Linked DNA regions of Homo sapiens: region 1 is linked to region 2. Evidence: promoter capture Hi-C in human tissues and cell types (Jung and others, 2019). All regions are on one chromosome and are shown on one strand. The core of a region is centred on a gene start or on the middle of the fragment in contact, and the rest is flanking DNA. Distances in the headings are between cores, read along the strand shown. Region 1 has its middle 22 kb from the start of C14orf180. Region 2 holds the start of KIF26A (kinesin family member 26A).

What was found. Contacts are between HindIII fragments. The study calls those that stand out against the background at their distance.
Region 1: a fragment that was not itself captured here is called in contact with the fragment with the promoter of KIF26A in region 2 in 1 of the 25 tissues and cell types used here (lymphoblastoid cells).

Annotation. Positions count from the first base shown.
Region 1 is chr14:104,555,230-104,560,009 of GRCh38, forward strand. No RefSeq gene overlaps it. Among named protein-coding and RNA genes, the nearest start is that of C14orf180, 22 kb to the right of the region's middle. The HindIII fragment of the contact is 7,980 bases long and covers 1-4,780 here.
Region 2 is chr14:104,136,970-104,141,529 of GRCh38, forward strand. It overlaps KIF26A (kinesin family member 26A), which reads left to right and starts at 1,618. Exons shown (of 15, transcript NM_015656.2): 1 at 1,618-1,795; 2 at 2,074-2,319. The coding sequence starts at 1,754. It overlaps KIF26A-DT (KIF26A divergent transcript), which reads right to left and starts at 1,660. Exons shown (of 3, transcript NR_158217.1): 1 at 561-1,660; 2 at 1-273. RefSeq lists enhancers at 1-208, 209-920 and a silencer at 617-786. The HindIII fragment of the contact is 16,750 bases long and covers 1-4,560 here.

The sequences.
Region 1 (4,780 bases), core at 124-2,623, 420 kb after region 2:
CTCCTCTGCACCAGACCCCTGAGCCCATCCCAGGCCCAGGGAGCCCAGGCTGGGAGGGGGAGGCAGGCTGCCACTGAGCCATGGAGACCAGTTTCCCCCAGCTGCCCAGGGCACGGGGCAGCCCCAGCATCGCTTTGCCATGTTCCTAACCCACACCGCCAGGCCCCGTGCTCCAGAGTGAGCCTGTCTCCGATCCAATACGCTCTCCTTCCTGGCTAATCCAGTTGGAGACTTTTCAACCTCACTATAATTTACAAGGCAGCTGGAGCACAGGATATTTTTAATAAAAATTAGGTACAAGCAGATACAGGGGATTAATAGTTGTATTATGATTTTATAGTTCTCCATATACAGCGGCACGGAAAAGACAATCAGAGAGCAGGGCCATTTCAGGCAGATAAAATGGGGCATTTATTTTTAATGGAAAGATAATTTCAGGATGCATCCAGCCATGGAGAAAGCTGCTGAGGCACTGCGCTGGGCAGAACAAAGAGGAGGCTGGAGGCTCGGCGGCCTCACTGAAAAGCCCTGTGGAGAGATTCTGGGCTTGCGGGACCAGGGGCAGGCTCCCCACCTAGTGGGTCTCCAGGTGGGGATCAGCAGTCCAAAATCAGAGCCATGTGAGCCCTGCCAGAAAGAAGGACCCAGGAGGGGTCCAGCCCCTCACCTGCCTGCTGTGCAGCTGTGGGCGAGTCTCTCTGAGCCTCAGTTTCCCTACCTGTACAGCAAGGACTGGATGAGCTCCTAGAAAAGCGGCTGCTCTGCAGAGCTGGGGAGGGGGTTGTGGAGATGGCCATCCACAGTCATCTCTGCTCCTTTCCCAGGAGCAAACACCCAACTGAGCATCTGCCATCTGCCCTGGGGTCACAGCTTCCCTTCCCTCAAGTTCAATCTCAGTGGCTTGAGGCCACCAGCGCTGTCCCTGGGGACACAGCTCTTCTTCCCCCATCTCCCATCCCCACCCCACCCCAGTCATATCCAGCAGGGGCTGAGCCTCTCCAGGAGCTACGAGGCTGGCTTTGAAGCCCAGAGCTTGAAAAAGGCACTATAGATGGAAAAGAAGCTGTCGGGGCTGCCATCTTCAAAGCCAGAGGCTGTGGCAGCTGAAGCCCCTGCTTGGGCTTTGCTGGAGCCCCGGCTTGGGCTTTGCTGGAGCACATCGTTCTGAAGACATGCCCAGCCCTGCCCCTCACCCCAGGCTCCCAGCCTCCTGCATGAAGCTCTGCACCCCTGGAGGGACGAGGGACTAGGGGGCCACTCAGGAGCAGGTGGGGCACTCAGGGATAGACAAGAGGGCTGCGGTGACACTGTGCCTGGGCTGGTCCCCCGGGGTCCAGGGCTCTCCTCTGGCCCAGAGGGACACCCGAGCTCCCTGTGCAGCCTTGTCCAACCTGGAGCTCAGAGGAAGTGGCCATCATGGCCCTCAAATCCTGTCCCAGTGGACACTGGCAATGGGCTGGCCCGGCCAGACAGGCTCACGTGGGCCAGAGGGTCACCCCCTCTTCCTGCAGCCCAAGGAGAGGAGCCCAAAAGGAGATCCCCTCAGGGACTTCCAGCCCACACAGACTGAGGATGCCCAAACCAAATTATGGCCAAAGGCCCCGGGGAGCTGAGAGAAGACAGGGAGTCAGGGAAGGCAGCGTCTGCAGGAGCCCCCAGGCCCCCTCACCCACCCAGGGAGTGACGCCCTGAGCCCCCACAGCCAGCCCCCAGCCAGGCCCCCAAGCCCTGCAGGAAATGGTCACTGTGTCCACTCCCGGCTGGCCACCCCTCCCCAGTAAGAGTCTCTAACCTGACCCTTCCCTAGTTGCCCCAGAACCTTCCAGAATCAAAGGAAACCACAGACTTCTCTGCCATGTCTTCTAGTTCCCAGGGAGCAGGAGACCCTCCTCCGCACAGCCCATCTGAGGGCAAGGCTGGAGAGGCTTCTGCTCCCCTGTCTAGATCCCCCTCTGGAGCCAGCAGCAGATGCCTGACAGAGAGAAGCAGTTCCAGTGCTGAGAGGCCTGGCAAAGTCCCTCAGGTGCTCAGGCTCTGACGGGCCACGGCTCGTGGAGAGAGCAGTGTGCCAGATCACCCCTACTCTTCTTCCAGGGACCACCTCCCCACCATTCCAGGACACACCAACAGACCCTGTGTGTCGGGCTCAGGAGCTGCCCAAGGGTCTGATGTCCCAGGCTTGTGAGGAGTGGGCCACCAAGAGGATGGGCATGCTTGGCTGGGGACCCCCAGCCAATCCAGGTGGGATTCACTTAACTCTCTGTGCTTGACACCCAGAAGTCACCAAATGAAGGGACCCACAAAATCACTCATGGTGAACACGGCTCCATAGGGATATAGGCTCAAATCACAAGGGCCCATCTCAGCTGGGAAGGTAGACCCAGGCTCGGCTGGGAGGTGAACTCAGACTTGACTGGGAGGTAGACCCAGGCTCAACAGGGAAATGAACTCAGACTCGGTTGGGATGATGGCCACAGGCTCAGCTCGGAAGTGGACTCAAGCTCAGCTGAGGTGATGGTCCTAGGTTCAGCTGGGAGGTGGACTCAGGCTCAGCTGGGATGATGGACTCAGGCTCAGCTGGGAGGTGGACTCAGGCTCAGCTGGAAGGTGGGCCCAGACTCAGCCAGGAAGTGAACTCAGGCTCAGATGGAAAGTGGCCCCAGGCTCAGCTGGGAGGTGGACCCAGACTTAGCTGGGAGGTGGAATCAGGCTCAGCTAGGAGGAGGAACCAGGCTCAGCTGGGAGGTGAACTTAGGCTCAGCTGGAAGGTGAACTCAGGCTCAGCTGGAAGGTGGCCCCAGGCTCAGCTGTGAGGTAGAGTCAGGCTCAGCTGGGGTGATGGACCCAGGCTCAGCTGGGAGGTGGACTCAGGTTTGGCTAGGGAGGTAAACTGAGGCTCAGTACAGGTTGAAGCACCATCACCAGGGCAGCCGTGACAGGTGATGACGTTGGACTGCTTTTGTATGAAAGAGGCAGCGCTTAGTTCTCACTAGAAGAGACGCTTAATCTGAATATGGACTGGTCTTTCCTGGCCACAAGGCTTCTGCAAATATGACCATCTTTCCCCATCAGCCTGGCCTTCCGCACAACATTGCTGTTAGCCAAGGGTCTCCCTTCGAGCTGCAATGGACTCAACCTCACAGAATCCACTGGTCTGACGTCCCCACTGTCTGGCAGCTGCCAGCCTGAGAGGCTGGCAGACTGGCCTTCGGAGACTCAGGGATGGCGCCAGCTGGGTGGCGATGCCCTGTGGGGCCTGCCAGGGCCCTGAAGGATACAGTGCAGGCTCCCAGTCAGTGACCCACAGCTGGGATTCACGGTCTGGGGATCTGGGGCTGGAAATTGGGGCTTTTCATGTGGTCACCTCTGTGATAGTTACAACTCACCCTTTGACTCTCACAGCCTGGTCCTTGAACTGCAGATGTGTCAGCCAATCTCAGAGCCAAGCCCAGCAGCTCCAGGCCAGATGGCCTCACCCACCTCCAGCCCAAGAGCATCCTCTTAGGAGGGGGGTTAAACTGAGCCTCCAGAGACCACCTTCCCGTGGCACCTGCTCGTAAACTAACTCATCCGGGAGGTGGGGGACCACTGGGTTCCACATATGGAAACAAGGGTGGTGGGAGAGGCGGGGTGCACAGGGCCGAGCTCCTCAGCAGGGTCCCCATGGATGGGACAATCAACAAATGCAGAGCACACCTAGGAGCCTGCAAGGCCGCCCTGCTGCCCGCGGCCCCTGCAGAACCAAGAGGCTTCCACTTTCTAAATCACACAAATTAATTTAGAAATCAGAGCGGCTCCCACAGCTAGACTGCAGGTTTCAAAATAGCTTAACAAATTACCAAATCCCCTTTAAGAAGACAAATTATTCCAGCTCCTCCACCAGCACCTGGTTAATGATGCATGCACTTTTGTTAGGCGTTAAATATTCACTAGCTGTGGGTTTGCACTTGTGACCCGTTGCCTCATTTCTATGTGGGCTGGCTGTTGTGCCCCATGCTGTCCCAGCACCCGGGGATGCTGGCCTTGGGACCACCGTGCAAGGTGACGGCCCAGCGGTTCCACCTTCCCTGACCATGGCCATGGCTCACCTCTGCCTGCCCAGGGCTGCCCTTGGTGCAGGCAGAGCCCACATCCCCTCACCAGCCTTCCAGGCCGTGCCATAGCCTTGGCATGTGAGGCCTCCTTGCCACCCGGCCTCCCTCCATCCCCATCTCCAGGCACACTCACCCACTGGCATCTCCCCGGGGCTGCTGTGGCCTTTGTCCCTCTTCCTGGTCTGATGCACACCCAGGGACAGACATGGGGTTTTCCTGACCCGAGTTTCAGGCCTCCAGTTCCTGACCAGCTTCTCCACACTGGCCCCACAGGCAGAGTGTGCCTCGCCCGCAGAGACGAGGTTATGTTCCCCGACCATGGGCGTTCAGGGGGTGGGAGACCAGGAGGGCACTCAGGCATCCAGCACTGCCATCCTTCTTGAGGCAGGTCCCCAGGCTGCCAGAGTTGTGGCCCAGACTCCCTGGACAGCAGAGACACCTGGTCAGGACTCAACCCCAGGGCCAACTAGAGGGAGCTGAGCCCTGGGAGGACCTGCAACCCTAGTGGGGCCACCAGAGAAGTCCCTCCCTCCTCTTCCCCAAGACTTGACAGCCGGGCTGTGCCCTGAACCCGCCCCTACTCCCCCTAGGCTGCCTGGGCGCCCCGCATTCACTGTTTCCACTCTTGACAGATGGGGAAGGGGGAGCCAGGCAGGAAGGAATGCCCCACCCAGGGGCCCCCCAGC
Region 2 (4,560 bases), core at 368-2,867:
GGGATGTGAGCTTGTGCTTCCCGAAGCGCCGCGGCGGTAGAAGCGCTGAAGTTGCGGGTGTGGCTGGCCAGGGGCGCAGGACCGGTGCTCCCGACCGCTGCGTGCTTCTGTGTTGCGTGTGTGGGTGGGGGGACGGGATATAGAGAGTGTGTGTCCCGGAGCAGTGGAGCGGCGGGAGGCGGTGCTGTCTGCCGGCAGTGCGGGGTGGGGTTTGGGTGTTGTCCTCAGTACCCAGATCCAGATGTGGGCTGACGCCCGTTTTCATTCTCCAGGCTGCGAAGAGACGGGTAGGGGAAGCGCTTCCGGCCCCCCAGGCTGGGTGGAAAGCGACTGCAGGCTTACGGATCTCAGAAAGAGTGGAGAGCCCCTGCCACTTTATTCCATACCCCCTTGCGTTTTCGAACCCCTAAGGTCATCAACGACCCGGAAAGCCGGGAGGGGATCACCCACCCCACTTTCTGGGGAGTGCGTGCGTGGGCGGGGAGGCTTATCCAAGTAAAAGGGGGTGGGCAAAACGGAAAGGGTCACTTTGACGTACTGAGTCTCTGCGAAGGCCTCACCGTATGTGCCGGCAGCCGCGTGTCCTGGTCTCCGCCGGGTCACGACCTTCGGAGTTTCCGAGTGCGCCTCAGGCCTGGGACGCGCGGCGCTGTCTCCCCAGTCTCGGAGCCGTGTGCGCAGCGGCCGGCAGGGGGCACTCGCGTCACGGGGAGCCCGCCCGCCGCGCCCGCCTGGCTTGACCCGGGCTTTGGGGCTGACCCGGAGCCTGGCCCGGAGCTGCCTGCGGCCGCGGATGCCGGCGACATTTGGGGCCCGGCTAGGCACAGAGCAACTGGTCGCCAGGGAAGGGCGGGGGGGCGGCCTCCCAGCCGGAGACAAACAAGCAATTAATTCCGGAGCTGAGTTCCCATCTGCCAGGCCTGCTGACAACAGGTCCGGCGCACGCCCGCAGGACCTCCCGCTTCCCGGGCGGCACGGCGCGCACACCCACTTGCGGGCACACGCGCGGCTGTAAAGACACGTGCCGTTCGCAGACGCGCCGAGGCACAGATACGCCGGCGCGGTCGCTGCCCGGCTCGAGGCGCACACCGCGGCGACACTAACCCACGCGCGACAGTTAGACCTAAAGTGGCCCGCGACACGCAGAGTACGCTGGGCTTGCTGGAAAGGCGCCTGGGAGTCTCGGGGCCGGGGTCCCGCCCCTTCCTCGGCCCACCTCGCCGTGGGCCTTGGGCAAGAGCGTCCCCTCCGCAGCCTCAGTTTTCCCGCCTGTAGAGGGAGGGGCGTCGGCGCCTCCTGGGAGACGCGCAGCCCTGGTGTCCCGGGAGAGGGGCGGGAGGCGCATGCGCGCGCGCAACTAGATCCTCGCCGCCGCCCCCAGCGCCCCTCCCCGGGGCAGGGACTCACCTAACAGGTTGGGGTCCTTGGAGTGCGCGGGGCCGCGTGGGGAAGCGGGGACCCTACCCCCCCCACGCGCCGCCCAGCACTGGGCAAGGGCGGGGCACTCTCTGGGCTCCCGCCCCTCGCCGCCCGCCCCGGGAGCCCGAGCCCCGCCCTTCCCCGGCCCCGCCCTCGCCTCCCGAGCGCGCCCACCGGAGCCACCGCGCTCCTCGCGACACTCGCAGGCTCTGCGAACTTCCGAGCGGCTGGGCCGGGCCATGGGGGCGCCTCGGGGCCGGATCACGTAGCCGCGGCGCCCCCGGAGAGCCAGCGTGGCCGGGAGCGCCTGCCGGGCTCTTCCCGCGCCCCGGCCATGGTCGGCCGCGGCGTCCCTCTGTGCGCTGCGCAGCCCGCGGTACGCGCGGCCCGGCCTGGAGAGGGAGGCGGGCGGCGGGGGCCCGGGACGGCGAAGATACTCGCGGTGTGCGCTGGATCCCTGGGGGCCGGGCCTCCTGCTGAGGGTAGCGGACCCGCAGGCGGGACCTCCGGGGATGGAGGGAGTGGGTGAGCGCCAGGGTCGTGCCCAGGGCTCCTAACTTTGGCAAGAGCGTCACGCTGGGGCAGGGCGCGCAGGGGTCTGGATCCGACGGACGTCCCAGGCTCACTGTCCGCTTCCGCCCCCACACCCTGCAGGTGGCCGAGGGCGGCCCGGCCCGCGAGCCGCCGCCGCTGCTGGAGGTGTCCCCCCGAAAGAGGCTACCCGCCGGGCCCGACCAGGACCCATGCGGCAGCCGCCCTGCTCCCGAAGGCGCCGGGGCCGGCCCAGAGCAGGGCCACTCGGCCGGCGGAGGCGGCTGGTGCCGCCACTGCCACACGAAGCTGGTGGAGCTCAAGCGACAGGCGTGGAAGCTGGTCAGCGGGCCCGGGACCACCCTCCGGGTAAGTGACACTTCCTTAGGCCGACCCCTCCGAGCAGGGCCACGCCGAACTTGGGTAGAACTTGGGGCTTGGAGGGAAGCAGGGTTCCACTCCTTCCCTGCTGCTGTTTCCACAAAGAGTTATCAGCCAGGACTTCCCTTCTGCGGGCCTCAGTTTCCCGGTCTGTAACACCATGTGTGAGCTAGGGAGCTCAGCCCGAGGGGCCCTGCTGCCTCGGATGGGAGGGGCCTGGGCTGGCGTTCCTCCCCCAGCCCAGATGTCCCACAGCTGGAACGCAGGTTTGTGTGGGAGGAGGAGGGGAGAGAGCGGATGGCAGGGACTCCACCCAGGGCGGGACAGCTCCAGCCCTACCAGCAGGGAGAGGTTATTTGGTGCATTGTGGCCCTTGGGGCACCTGGGCCCCCAGCCAGGTGTCTGGAAATTACATACCTGGGGCCGGGGGGCCTGGCAGGTGAAAGGGTGGGCCACAGCAGCTGGGGGGTCCCTGCCTACTCCTCTCCCAGCCTCAAGGATAAGAACTGTTGTCCCATACCTCCTGGGATAGACTGAGGCAGTGGCCGCCCATGGGGAATTGAGTCGGGGCCCTCTGGGTTCCCCAGGCTCCAGCCCCAGGGGCAGGTGCTTGCAGGGGAGGGGTTCTCCTGGATTTCCAGCCAGTGGGCCTGCCGGCTTTGGAGGGAGCAGGGACCATTGTTCCAGGAACAATGCATGCTGGAAGTTTGCAAAGGCTGGGGGCGGGTGGGGGTCTCCAGAGGAAGCCCGCTGCCGGGCCTTCAGCCTTTATGAAAGAGTTCCTGGGAAGTCCGCATAATCCCCATTGAATCTAAATATAGTTCTCTAAGGGCTGTGGGGGTTGGAGTGAGCTGAGACCCTGACTGCCCTGTCTGGGGCAGGGCAGGGTGGGGCAGGGTACCAGTCTGGTTTCTGTCCTGGGCACCGTCTCCGGGCTCTCTGGAGTCTCGGCGAGGGATAGGATTGCTGTAGCCTCTCTCTGGCTCAGGCCAGGCGCCTGTGGGCCTGTCCTGGGGTGGGGCTGGACCCGCCCTGTCCTCTGCTCTGGACAGGCTGCAGCCTTGGCCATACTCTGTGCCCCAGTGGCCTGTATCTAGTTTAAAAGGTAGCAGGAGACCCTTGAGGGCCCCCTGGAGAGGGCCAGCCAGAGCTAAAGGCCCATCTTGCTGCCCCATTAGGGGAAACACGCCAGAGACAGGAGGGGCATTAAGATTGAGCTGGTCTCCTCATTCTTGGAGTGGGCTTGGACTGCTGATGCTGCCTGGCCCTGGGGCCATGGTCCTGGCATGGACTCGTGGAGGGGAGGGGGCTCCTGGTCACGGGCAGGCCAGGGGTCCTAGTGGAGAGGGCTGCAGGTGATACTAGTCCCTGGTGGATTCTAGGTTCCTCATCTAGGGGGGTGTCTTGGTCTCTTCTGGCAGACAGGTCTTCAGGGGAGCCCCAGACCACCCATCTCCAGCCTCCCCTGAGCTTGGCCTTTGACACTGGAAACTCCTCTTGAGTGCCAGCTGGGGGCTCCCCCTTCCCTAGCTGGCGCTGGCACTCAGCACACCGGGGTCCCGGGCTGGTCTCAGCCAGGGCTTTGTTCTGCTCTGGGCCCCCTTCTTCTGCTTTGTGGTCTCCTCTGTCACCTGGGGCCTGTTGTGAAGTGCTGTCCCACCTGCAGGGTGCTGTGCCCCCGGGAGAGAAGACCCCATCCTCCACTGTCTCTCCACAGGGCATGGGGGGCTGCACCTGCCATCCTGGGGCCTTACGGGTGTCATTGTCCTGTCCCCTGTGCGGGCCTGGGCTGTCCCCAGAGTCCCAGCAAAATTGCAGCCTGCAGCCCTGGCCTGGCCCGCTGGGCCCAGATGTGTGGACATGGCTGCTTCTGTGTTTGGGTTGGGAGGGAAATCTCTGGGGTGGCCAGGGAGACCCCAGTGTGCTCCCCGGAGTCTGGTGCACTGTCCAGTGGGCCCTGGCCTCTGCTCTGTAAGGCCAACGTGGCAAGGGGTATTTAGGGTTGGTGTTCTAGGATTTCCCCAGGGGCCCGTTTCGTATTTTTTAGGGGAGAGATGAGCTTCCTTGAGGATAGCTGTTTACAGGGAACTTCACAATCATCCATCTGTCTCATGCTTGGATCTTCAGAAGCCCAGAGAAGTGGAGAGACTTGCTGGGACCCGGCCTGGCTATTAGAGGCCCTCGCCTCCGGGCTTCCTGCCTGTCTCCGTTGTAGAGGGAGGCGTAGAG